4 separate regions of the Homo sapiens genome follow, and regions 1, 2 and 4 are each linked to region 3. Evidence: promoter capture Hi-C in human tissues and cell types (Jung and others, 2019). All regions are on one chromosome and are shown on one strand. Each heading gives the region's core, a stretch centred on a gene start or on the middle of the fragment in contact. The rest is flanking DNA. Distances are from core to core; before and after follow the strand shown. Region 1 has its middle 18 kb from the start of OR6B3. Region 2 overlaps COPS9 (COP9 signalosome subunit 9). Region 3 holds the start of GPC1 (glypican 1). Region 4 has its middle 16 kb from the start of KIF1A.

Region 1 (2,700 bases), core at 88-2,587, 360 kb before region 3:
TTGGCTCACTGAAACCTCTACCTCCTGGATTCAAGCAATTCTCCTGCCTCAGCCTCCCGAGTAGCTGGGATTGCAGGCATTTGTCACCATGCCCAGCTAATTTTTTTTGTATATTTTGTAGAGATGGGGGTTTCACCAAGTTGGCCAGGCCAGACTCCTGACCTCAAGTGATCTGCCCCCCTCGGCCTCCCAAAGTGCTGGGATTACAGGCATGAACCACTGCACCTGGCCTGGAGGATCAGATTTATAGAAACCCTCATGCCACCATTTTGGAAGTCCGGCCTCTGAATTCATTATTCACTGCTGTGTTTCTTGAACATTTATTTTTCTTAAATTGATGTTTTATCCCAAGTCAAGCATCATTTGGTCAAATTTCTAGTAATTTTAAAAAATGGATTCACGAAAGGTAAACTTTCCAACAGCTTCTATATTCCAAGATAAACACGGAATATGATTTAAAACTTCAAAAAAAGAATTATCAGTGGCCAAAAAATGTAAGAAAATATGATTGACATCACTTAAAATTAAGTGAATACGGTTTGACAAATAACATTGAAGTATTATTTTTTCTTCGGGCCTGTCAGAGTAGCTGAAATTCAAAAATACTAATTAAATTTAATCATCACAGGTTGTGGGGAAATAGGCCAACTCAGCACTTTGAAGTGTTAATTAGCATTTCATGTTTGGAGGATAATTTATCAGCCCTTGTAAAAGGAACCTACCTTCTGACACTCTTCATCTATTATTATGAATCTCGCCTCCAAAAATCATTGTTCTGGTGCAGACAGACTTTTGTTGCAGTCCCTTAGGAAACAATGGAAATATAAGAAACAAATTATAAATATATAAGAAACAACTTATAAATCTTTCAGTAGGGGCCGGGCATGGAGGCTCAGGCCTAGAATCCCAGCACTTTGGGGGGCCAAGGCAGGCAGATCACCTGAGGTCAGGAGTTCGAGACCAGCCTGGCCAACATGGTGAAACCCCATCTCTACTAAAAATACAAAAATTAGCCGGGCATAGTGATGTGCACCTGTAATCCCAGCTACTCGGGAGGCCGAGGCAGGAGAATCACTTGAACCCGGGAGGCAGAGGTTGCAGTGAACTGAGATCGGGCCACTGCACTCCAGCCTGGGTGACAGAGTGAGACCCTGCCAAAAAAAAAAAAAAAAATCTTTCAATAGGACATTGGTTAAATAAAGCATGTAAACTGTAGTCCACCCATATAGAGAAAAACTGTGACTCTGTCAGAAAAAGAGAGGGAGAAAATAACAGACAGACACAGAGATAGGCACCCAGAAATATATAATCTGGAGGAATATGCAACAAAGCGTTTAGAACATATAAATAAAACATGGAAAATGGGTTTGGGTATTTATGGGGAATTGTCATAATAGCTGTAGCTGTCTGTTAGTTCATATTTTTTAAAACAATAAGTTTATCGATTCAGCTATCTTATTTCTTGGAAACACAGTCACATGGAAAGAAGTCTATAAATTTATAAGAATAAGAAATGAGACACTGAAGCCCCCTCTTACTTTCCAATCTCCCTTTTCCTTCCCCATTATCCTTGGCAGAAGTAAGTGATGTAAATAGACTTACATCACCCAGTTATTTGCCTTTGCATTTATATACATTGATTTTCACATGGATATGTATTGAATATTTTTAACATGAATGAAGTTATCCTACATATGCTAAAACTTGTGTTATTGTTTTCGCTTTTCTTTTCTTTTCTTTGAGTTAGGTTCTCACTCTGTTGTCCAGGCCGAAGGGCAGTGGCATGATCACAGCTCACTGCAGCCTCAACCTCCTGGGCTCAAGCGATCCTCCCACCTCATTCTCCCAAGTAGCTGGGTCTACAGGTGTGCACCACCATGCCCGGCTAATTTTCGTATGTTTTGTAGAGGTGGGGTTTTGCCGTGTTGCTCAGGCTGGTCTCGAACTCCTAAGCTCAAGCAATCTGCCCACCTCGGCTTCCCAAAGTGCTGAGATTACAGGCATGAGCCACTGTGCTGGGCCTTGTTTCCACTTTTAAATGTCTTAATGATGCAGGTTATGACTGGAAATAAGTTAGATATTATAAGAGAAAGAAAAAGATGTTTTTAAGAATTTCAGATGTTTGGCTTGAGTGATGAATGGAAGATCCAGAAATGAAATAAAGAAGAGATTGGGAAGGAAAGATTAAGAGAGGATTTTTTTGGATAGGTCCATTATGAGAGATCTCTGAGATAACCAAGTGAAGATGACATTCTTATCAAAAACCAGGTGCCAGCGATCCTTTTAATGTTTGACAAACTTATGAACAAAACATAACTATTTCGGGTTTTATTTTCCCCAATCATTGAAATTTAATGTCTCTTCATTGAGGTTGAGCATATTTAACCTCATAGTTTACTTTGTTCATGGAAAATTGATGTTTATCATTGAGACTTACAATCTTTTCATGTTGATCGTTCATTTGTATTTCCTCTCCTATATTTGTGCGTTTCTAACCTTTGTCCATCTCCAGTTAGTTTTGTTTTGTTTTGTTTTTTTGAGATGGAGTCCAGTCTGTCCATCTCAATGGACAGACGGGGTTTCACGGTGTTGGCCAGGATGGTCTCGATCTCCTGACCTCATAATCCACCTGCCTCGGCCTCCCAAAGTGCTGGAATTACAGGTGTGAGCCACCACGCCTGGCCTTCCAGTTAGTTTTTT
Region 2 (2,700 bases), core at 128-2,627, 300 kb before region 3:
ACATGTGACATTGCTTTCTTTTAATTGGAGTGAGGACAAAACCTGATCCCGTTCAGAGATGAACAGAATCATCTAGGTCGTTAAGAACAGTCTTATCTTTCTGGTTAACCAGGTCCTAAATTCAAGGGATTTCCACGTGTTCTTTAAAACCACCTGAAACTGTCCTGCGCAGGCTCACACTGCGGCTCTGTACCAAGGGCTTGGCCCCGCCTGCAGCCAGAGGGCATCTCACTGGATGTCATCATCATCAAAAAGATCTTCAAAATCTAGGGAAATAAGCAAAACCACGTAGTTACACCTACAAGGGTAAGGGCTGAAGAAATCACTTCAGAATGAATTATATAGTAGTCCAAAATACAGAGATAATCGTCAATGATCCAATGAAATAAAAGACTTTTCCCGTAACAGACTTTCAGTTTCAGCCAACCAGGGCTCGTACATGTAGTCCAAGGGGAGAGTGTTGGCTAGAGTGCTTTCTAGCTTTCATTTAAAAGACAATCCTAAGAAAATGCATGCAGGGCTGTTCTGAGTCCCACGGACACCACCGCACAGCCACAACTCAGCACTCAGGACACGCCAGTGCCGTGTCTGCACCCACGAGTGCACGGGCACCCAAGATGCTGCCCTCGCTGCCGGGGCCGGGGAGAGATGAAGCTGGGAGGCACGTGCTGGGTCCTTGAGAGCAGAGGGAAACCAGCCGGCTGCCGCTGTGAGCATGAGAAAGCCGGGCTAGGCTGCAGAAAGGTGAAGCCTCCAGTAAGGGAGCGTGAATGATACTCAAGCCTGAGAAACACCTGCTAAGGCCCATTCTCACTGGAAGAAACGCAGCAAACACGTAGTGCCCTGCTTTGGGTGATCAAAATCAGGCCCCCCAGGAAAGATTTTGTCCTTCTGTTTAGTCTTCTGTGTTTTTCAAATTCCCTACTACAGGCAATCATCACTTTCACAATGGGAGGTGAAAATACAACTAAAAGCCCACCCACATGTACTGCGCACTGAAAATGTGCAGTATGAATTATGAACTAGAAAGAGGAGGTTCAACTCCTGGAGGGTCAGAGCGAAGAGAAAGGGGCCTGCTGGCACCACAGCATCCAGCCTTCCTGGGGAGGGTGGCGTCCCTGAGGCATCTCTGGATACTGCAGAGGGTCCCGACGCTCCCCAGCCACACTGATGCACCCCCACGTCCTCACTGCCTCCCGACTGCTGGTTGTGGTTCGCCGCTAGGAGCACTTTTGCGCAGTCCTGGGCCTGGCTGACTCCACACCTTCCGACCTCTGCTCTGCTGCCCCCTCTGGAGAAACCTCCCTCTGCAGTGCTCCCAGAAACAATGCCGTCCACGCTTTGCCAGGGCTCTTGTCACAGTCCAGCCCCTGCCTGCTGACTTGTCTGGACCCACAATTTTGTAAGACATGGCGAGGGAAGAGAGAGTGTCTCTTTCGTGGCTAGAACCCTGGTGCCCAGGGTGTAACAGCCCAGCAAACCCATCTGTTTGACGAGTAAAAAGGACTTAGCAAAAGCCTCATCCACAGCCCACAGAGGTCTCTCAAAGTAAATGGCTTCTTGAACACATGGGGTTGTCACAACCTGATGGGACAGTGAGTGCTTTGTGAACTTAGTGGGTGGGCAGGCAGGGGACACAGAGCTCTCCTGCGTCCCCTCCCTGACCGGCCGTGGCTCAAAGGCAGACACGCGCCCACAATGCTCAGGTTGCTGGGCGCTCACCTGACGGGTAGGACCTGGGTCCCTCTCAGAGATGCTTTCCCGTCAGGATTCAAGGGCTGACTCTGGAAGTCATGTGAACTCAAACACTAGAACACAGCAATCGCCTCTAACCAATGGGCTGGCAGAGGATAAATGGGACTTTGAAGGAGATCATCAAAATGCAAGCGTGTGGTGCCAGCATTAGCAACTGCCCAATCCTGCCCACGTGAAAAGCTTCAAAGTCGCCCTGGTGAGCTGGTGTTTTTGCAAAGCAGCTTTGGAGAGCGCTCTGCAGCTTTGTACAATTTGTTCCCTCTGAAGGCAACACCCTTCTCCCACCTCGCTCTGGCATAAAGAATTGAAATAAATGCTATTCAGTTCTCCAGGCTCATCTCAAATGTCATCTGCCTCAGTTCTGACTCCAGTTGGTAGCAGTAAGAATGCTGCCTCAGGGGCATGGCCAGGCACCCTGGGAAAGCCTGCACCCCAACTCAGCAGCTTGGCTGCTCCCCTCAGGCAATGGCTGCCTGACAGTAAGCCTGATGAAGCAGCAGGGACTCAGGATGGCAGGGGGTCTCTGGTAAATTAGAAACCGATGTGGCAAGCTCAGGTCCTAGCTGTTAACTAGTAACAAGAGCTTTCTGTAGAGAAAAGCACCATGGATTAAACCAGGATGAAAAATGCCACCTCACTCTCTGGAGTAAGAAACCTATCTTATTTACTTATTATTTGAACCCTTAGTAAAGGTTAATATCATCTATAGGAATAAGGCCTGAAGAAATCAGAAGAGAATGAGAAATATTCCCTCTAGCAGGTCTGAAGATGTTACAGAAAATTTGCTTTTCACTGTTCATTTGGTTTACCCATGTTTTTGGTAACTAGCACTGAAGCCCTTAAATCAAGAGGAAAACACATCCTGCGTCCTGATTTCAGAGCTGGGCAAGAGCTGGAGTATGGCTGTCCCTCTGCAAAGGCAGCTGAGGGCATGAGAACCCAGGC
Region 3 (2,700 bases), core at 24-2,523:
CCACCACGGACCCCGCTGCAGCTTCCAGGTGATGCCACAGGCCCTGAAATCAGGACACCCTTGCTGTACATGGGGGTCATCTTGAGGTTCTCTGCCAAGGATACTGACCTCTATGCCTGCCCCCAATTCTGCAGCTCAGGCACCTGGCTTCACCGCCAGGCCTTACCATGTGGAGAACAGGGGGCCGGGGTGGGGGGTCTGGGAGCCAAGGAAGGAGTGAAGCCCTCCAGACACCAACATCGCAGTCCTCGCCCCCTCCCTACAGACCCCATCCAGCCCAACTCCCCATGTGCAGCTAAAGCCACGCGCCCTCCTACCATACAAGGTGCAGGCAGCCCTCCCGCCTTCTTCAAAGAGGCATCTGCTCCGGCTCACTCCACCCTCCTCCCCCAGTGGCCTAACTAGTCGCCGGGTTCCAACCCTATCCCTTCTCCAGAGGTCATCTGGCCCCACCCAGCAGCCCAAACCAGTAGACCGGCCCTGCCCCATCACTTTGGTTTCTCCAGCATCCAAAGAACGTGGAGGGTCACCCCCCCAAAACAGCTGTCAAGGTCCAACAATTAAGCCATCTGTTGCCGCTCCCTGGGACTGGGAGAGGTGAGGTCGAGTTTCTTGGCGAGTTTCCTGCGTGCAGCCCCCACACCACAAAAGCCCCCGGTGCGAGCCGGAGCCCAGCGCGAGACGGCTGGAAGGGCGCGGGGAGGGAGCCGCTGCGGGGTGCAGGCGGGGAGAGGGGCGGCGGCTCGAGGCGCGGCCGGCGGGCGGAGGGTACGGAGGCGCCGGGAGAGCGTTCTCGGGGCGCGCTGCCAGGGTGCAGGAAGCCGGAGCGCGCGGGAGGGAGCGGGGAGCGGGATGCCGATTTCGGCTGGGGGCGGGGAGGCCCCTGATTGGGGCGCGGGAGGCGTGATGTCACGTCCGGCGGGGGAAGCCCTGCCTCGCGCACCCTCCGCCCCCGTCCCCGCCCCCACAGGTGGTGCCACCGCCCTGGGCGCTGGGCGTGGGGGGCCGCCCTCGGGGACCCCGGCCGCGGCCCCGCGCTGCCCGGCTCCGCCGCCTCCCGCCGGGGATCGATAGAGTCGCGCGGCCAGGCGGGCCCTCTGGGTCCCTAAGAGCCAGAGGAGCGCCCAGTGCGCCCCGGCCCGCGCCCCCGCGCCGCGCCCCGCCCCGCCCCGCCCGGTGCTCCCAGTCCCTCCCCCACCCCTGCGCTCCCACCCTGCCCCGCCCCTCTCCTCTCCCGCGGCCGCCTAGGGGCCGGGCCGGCGGCGGGGGAGGCGCCGAGCCGGGACTGCGCTAGCCCGCCGCGCTCTGGGCTGCCCGAGCGAGCGTTCGGACCTCGCACCCCGCGCGCCCCGCGCCGCCGCCGCCGCCGGCTTTTGTTGTCTCCGCCTCCTCGGCCGCCGCCGCCTCTGGACCGCGAGCCGCGCGCGCCGGGACCTTGGCTCTGCCCTTCGCGGGCGGGAACTGCGCAGGACCCGGCCAGGATCCGAGAGAGGCGCGGGCGGGTGGCCGGGGGCGCCGCCGGCCCCGCCATGGAGCTCCGGGCCCGAGGCTGGTGGCTGCTATGTGCGGCCGCAGCGCTGGTCGCCTGCGCCCGCGGGGACCCGGCCAGCAAGAGCCGGAGCTGCGGCGAGGTCCGCCAGATCTACGGAGCCAAGGGCTTCAGCCTGAGCGACGTGCCCCAGGCGGAGATCTCGGGTGAGTGAGGGCGCGGCGCCGGGAACCCGGGCCTGGCCGGGCTTTGGGCTCCGGACCCTGGTCTTCCCGACGCGGCTACTCGCCCCCGGCGCGGGATCCTGCCGCCTGCGCCCCGCCGCCCGGGCCCCGAATGGCTCCCTGCGCTGCGGCTCCTCTGCAACCCCACGGCCCTCGCCTCCAAGCCCCGCGCCGCACTCCCTCGCCAGGGTCTCCTCCGCCCCGCTCGGTCGTCCTCCGCCCCTCCCCGCCCCCCGCACGCCGGCTTCTTCCCTGCGGAGCTGATCTCGCCGGGCTGCGGGCTCGGGGCGCTCCTCCCGGGCCACGGCTGGAGCTGGGCGTCTTCTGCCCGCCGCTCGGCCCAGCGCGCCTGCAGGCCGGGAGTCCCAGCCCCGGGGCCGGCTGTCGGGGCGCTGTGGGGCTCGGCGTGGCCGGGCTTTCGGGGCGCCGCTGACGGTGGCCGCGGACCCCTTCTGCTCTGTACAGACCTCTCTGGGAGGCGTCTCCGGTCCTGCCCGGGGATTCTCGTAGGGTCTCCAGCAAAGGCAGCCTAGGTGGGTTTTATAAGCTGACCCCCTCGGGGGGTAGTGCGGAGGGGTGGGGAGGGAGCTGGGCACTTATCCGCGGGCGGAACGCCGCCGCCTCGTAGAGATTCCTGTCGAAGAACTTGTACGCGCCGGCCCCCGCCTGGCGCTTGGGCAGCCTCGTGCCGCGAGTCCAGCTGCAGGTGGTCGGCGCGTTGGATCCCGCCCAGGGGCCGTGTCATTTCTTTGTAAGAACAGCGGCCCTCTTGGCGCCCCCTAAGCCCTGCAGCCGCCTGCGGCTCTGCCTCTTCCCTCCCTGTGGTCCCGGAGGAGCTTTGGGGACAGAAGTGTACGGGTGGGTGGAACGGTGGGCTCCGTGTGCTAAGGAACTCTTGGAACCCAAGCTTCACCTTTCCACGTGTGGGAACCAACCTCGGTCTGTACCGCGTGCCAGGGACCCAGTGGGCAAGAACAAAACAGACTA
Region 4 (2,700 bases), core at 77-2,576, 400 kb after region 3:
TGGGGCCAGAGCAAGGCAGTGCTTAGAGGATGGGAGGAAGCAGGTTCCCTGGTAGGAAGCCCCCAGCCTGGCTTTTCACCAATGGAGGCATGAGGTCAGCCTCTCTCTGCACTAATGTTAAGGCTTGGCAATGACCTCTCCCCACTCAAGCCCACCCCTCCCAAATCCTCGTCATTCATAAACAGCTTCCACCCAGCTCAGCCATGGAGGCTGGTAGTACCTTCTAACGCAGGGTGCTCACCCTGGCTGCAGATCAGAATCACCCTGCTGTATCCCTCAGAGATCCTGACTCCATTGTTCTCCGTGAGTTATGGGGGCTCCTAGTTAAGCACGCCAAGTGGTTCTGTGTGTGGCTGGGCCCTGGGACCCCTGGCATGGGCAGCCATCAATCAGGAGAAGTCCTGGCTATGATCACCTCTTGCCTGCCGGAGAATCAGATGGGCAGAGAGAAGATGCAAAGCAGCATTTCCTCCTTACACACTTCCAAATGCTCGCCCACAGTGACTGTGTTTTTGTTCCATCCTGTTTTAGTGGACATATGTTCTCAAAATCATTACTCTGTGCTTGGGACTGGGGTCCAGGCCTCCTCCCCATTTTACGGATGGAGAAATTGAGGCTCAGAAGGGAGTCAGGACCAGGACGCAGGACAGACGATGCCAGATGAATGGCCCTTCCCATTCCTCTGCTAGAAGAACAAGTGTCCACTCCCTATTTCTTGTTTTTCTCCTGAAAATCCAAATGTTTATAGAAGTCATAAAGAGAAATAAACAACCAGGTTTTTGCCCCAGGAAACAGGTCTGGTGAAGATGTTTATTGGAGACTCTTGAGGACCAAACCCAAAACTGGGTCATCCTGAGGGGAAGAGGGTGAGGAGGAGCCACGATGAATTGCACCAACGTGGGATTTCTGAAGATAGTCGCGCCAGTTTCTGACCCTGGGGCTGCTGAGGGTGACCCCGTGTCCAGGCCCAGCAGGACAGTCCTGCCTTGTGCTTTTGTGCCCATGCCCTCTTTCACTCTCACAGTGCCCGGCTTGGGCGGCAAATGACACAGGTGCCCTTCACACCACAGGGAACTCCCAGACCTGGAGTTCTCAGTGCAGTGGACAGAAAAGGAGGCCGAGGCTTGCTGCGTTTTTGGAGACACTTAGCACCACATTCTGTATTTATCCACATTAGGTTTGGGACAGTTTGTTGGGAAGGGGCGTGTGTGTGTGTCTGTGTGTGTGTGTGTGTGTGTGTGTGTGTCTGTGTGTGTCTGTGTGTGTGTATGTATACACGCATGAGTGGGAAAGAAAGAAGGCCAGGCGCGGTGGCTCGCGCCTGTAATCCCAGCACTTTGGGAGGCTGAGGCGGGCAGATCACAAGGTCAGAAGATCGAGACCATCCTGGCTAACATGGTGAAACCCCGTCCCTACTAAAAACACAAAAAATTAGCCGGACGTTGTAGCGGGCGCCTGTAATCCCAGCTACTCGGGAGGCTGAGGCAGGAGAATGGCGTGAAACCAGGAGGCAGAGCTTGCAGTGTGCCAAGATCGTGCCACTGCACTCCAGCCTGGGCGACAGAGCGAGACTCCGTCTCCAAAAAAAAAAAAAAAGAAAGAAAGAAAGAGATGTCAAGTGGAGAGAGGCTGAGACCCTCAGAGCTCCAGTGGGTGGGAAGAGGCCAGGATGTGAAGTCACGAGAGCCGGGAGGCCCCAGATGCTCAGGACCCCCAGGAGTCCTGGGTTCTATGAGCCTCGCCCTCCTCAGCCCCTGCCTTGGGGATTTGGACTCTGCGGGGCTGGGAGGAGGCCTAGGAGTCCGTCATTGCAGGATCACACCCCCATCCCTGCACAATCCCTAATCTCACATCAGAATCACTCAGAGGTAGGACCAGGGTCATGATCCCATTTCAGGAAGGAGTGAAAGAGGGGCTTTGCTGGGCCCCGGACTCAGAAACCAGAGCCCTGGGTGGGTGGGGCCCAGGCTGGGCAGCCCCCAGCCAACCAAGGGTAGGGACTGGTAGGGCCCCAAGTGAATGGGTCCCCGGGCTCTAGCCCGGGAGGCCCACCGGGGATCTGCACAGCGTGGGCAGCTCTGCCGGGATCTGCTTGTGGCGCACTGGACGGCCGGGTGCTGACTCAGTGTCTGGCCAGCAGCAACTGGGCTGGGGCCAGATCCCATCGCAGCGCAGCCGTGTCGGCAGGCAGCTGCTCCCGGACCAGGACCAGCTGCTCCTGGGGACCAGGACCAGAACGAAGTGTTAGCTGTTGACACGTCAGTCCAAGTCCCCTACCCCTCTGCTTTTGCTGCTCCCAGTCCCTCCAGTTTTCCCTCATCTGTTCATCCACAAAGACCCTGGAAGCCCTGAGCTTCCTCTGTGTCTGGAGCTGCAGCATGGCAGTGGGAAGGGCTGCCCCTCTGCAGGGCCGCTGTGCTGTGTGCTAGGTGGGGCTAATAGCTGGGGTCACCCCTGCTGCTCACCCTTAGCTGAGGAGGAGAGGAAGCAAATTGGGTGCTCCCCAGTGACTTGGGTCTGGATTCTGCTGTCAGCCTACACACAGAGCAGGAGGCTGGGGACTAGAGGTTCTCTGGGGACAGCATGTAGAGGACTTGACCACAGTGCTAGATGCTGGCAGGGACGGAACCGAGTAAGACACCATCCTCCCCAGGGCAACCTGCCATCTTTCTGATGACAGACACTTACACAAGTACAGGG

The links. Contacts are between HindIII fragments. The study calls those that stand out against the background at their distance.
Region 1: a fragment that was not itself captured here is called in contact with the fragment with the promoter of GPC1 in region 3 in 1 of the 25 tissues and cell types used here (lymphoblastoid cells).
Region 2: a contact is called between a fragment that was not itself captured here and the fragment with the promoter of GPC1 in region 3, in 1 of the 25 tissues and cell types used here (dorsolateral prefrontal cortex).
Region 4: a contact is called between a fragment that was not itself captured here and the fragment with the promoter of GPC1 in region 3, in 1 of the 25 tissues and cell types used here (lymphoblastoid cells).

The regions. Positions count from the first base shown.
Region 1 is chr2:240,070,453-240,073,152 of GRCh38, forward strand. No RefSeq gene overlaps it. Among named protein-coding and RNA genes, the nearest start is that of OR6B3, 18 kb to the left of the region's middle. The HindIII fragment of the contact is 5,248 bases long and covers 1-2,700 here.
Region 2 is chr2:240,130,823-240,133,522 of GRCh38, forward strand. It overlaps COPS9 (COP9 signalosome subunit 9), which reads right to left. Exons shown (of 3, transcript NM_001163424.2): 3 at 6-266. The coding sequence ends at 229. Among named protein-coding and RNA genes, the nearest start is that of COPS9, 4.1 kb to the right of the region's middle. The HindIII fragment of the contact is 5,894 bases long and covers 1-2,700 here.
Region 3 is chr2:240,434,390-240,437,089 of GRCh38, forward strand. It overlaps GPC1 (glypican 1), which reads left to right and starts at 1,274. Exons shown (of 9, transcript NM_002081.3): 1 at 1,274-1,695. The coding sequence starts at 1,530. RefSeq lists enhancers at 337-913, 2,647-2,700 and silencers at 743-1,402, 1,463-1,522. The HindIII fragment of the contact is 16,928 bases long and covers 1-2,700 here.
Region 4 is chr2:240,834,736-240,837,435 of GRCh38, forward strand. No RefSeq gene overlaps it. Among named protein-coding and RNA genes, the nearest start is that of KIF1A, 16 kb to the left of the region's middle. The HindIII fragment of the contact is 6,293 bases long and covers 1-2,700 here.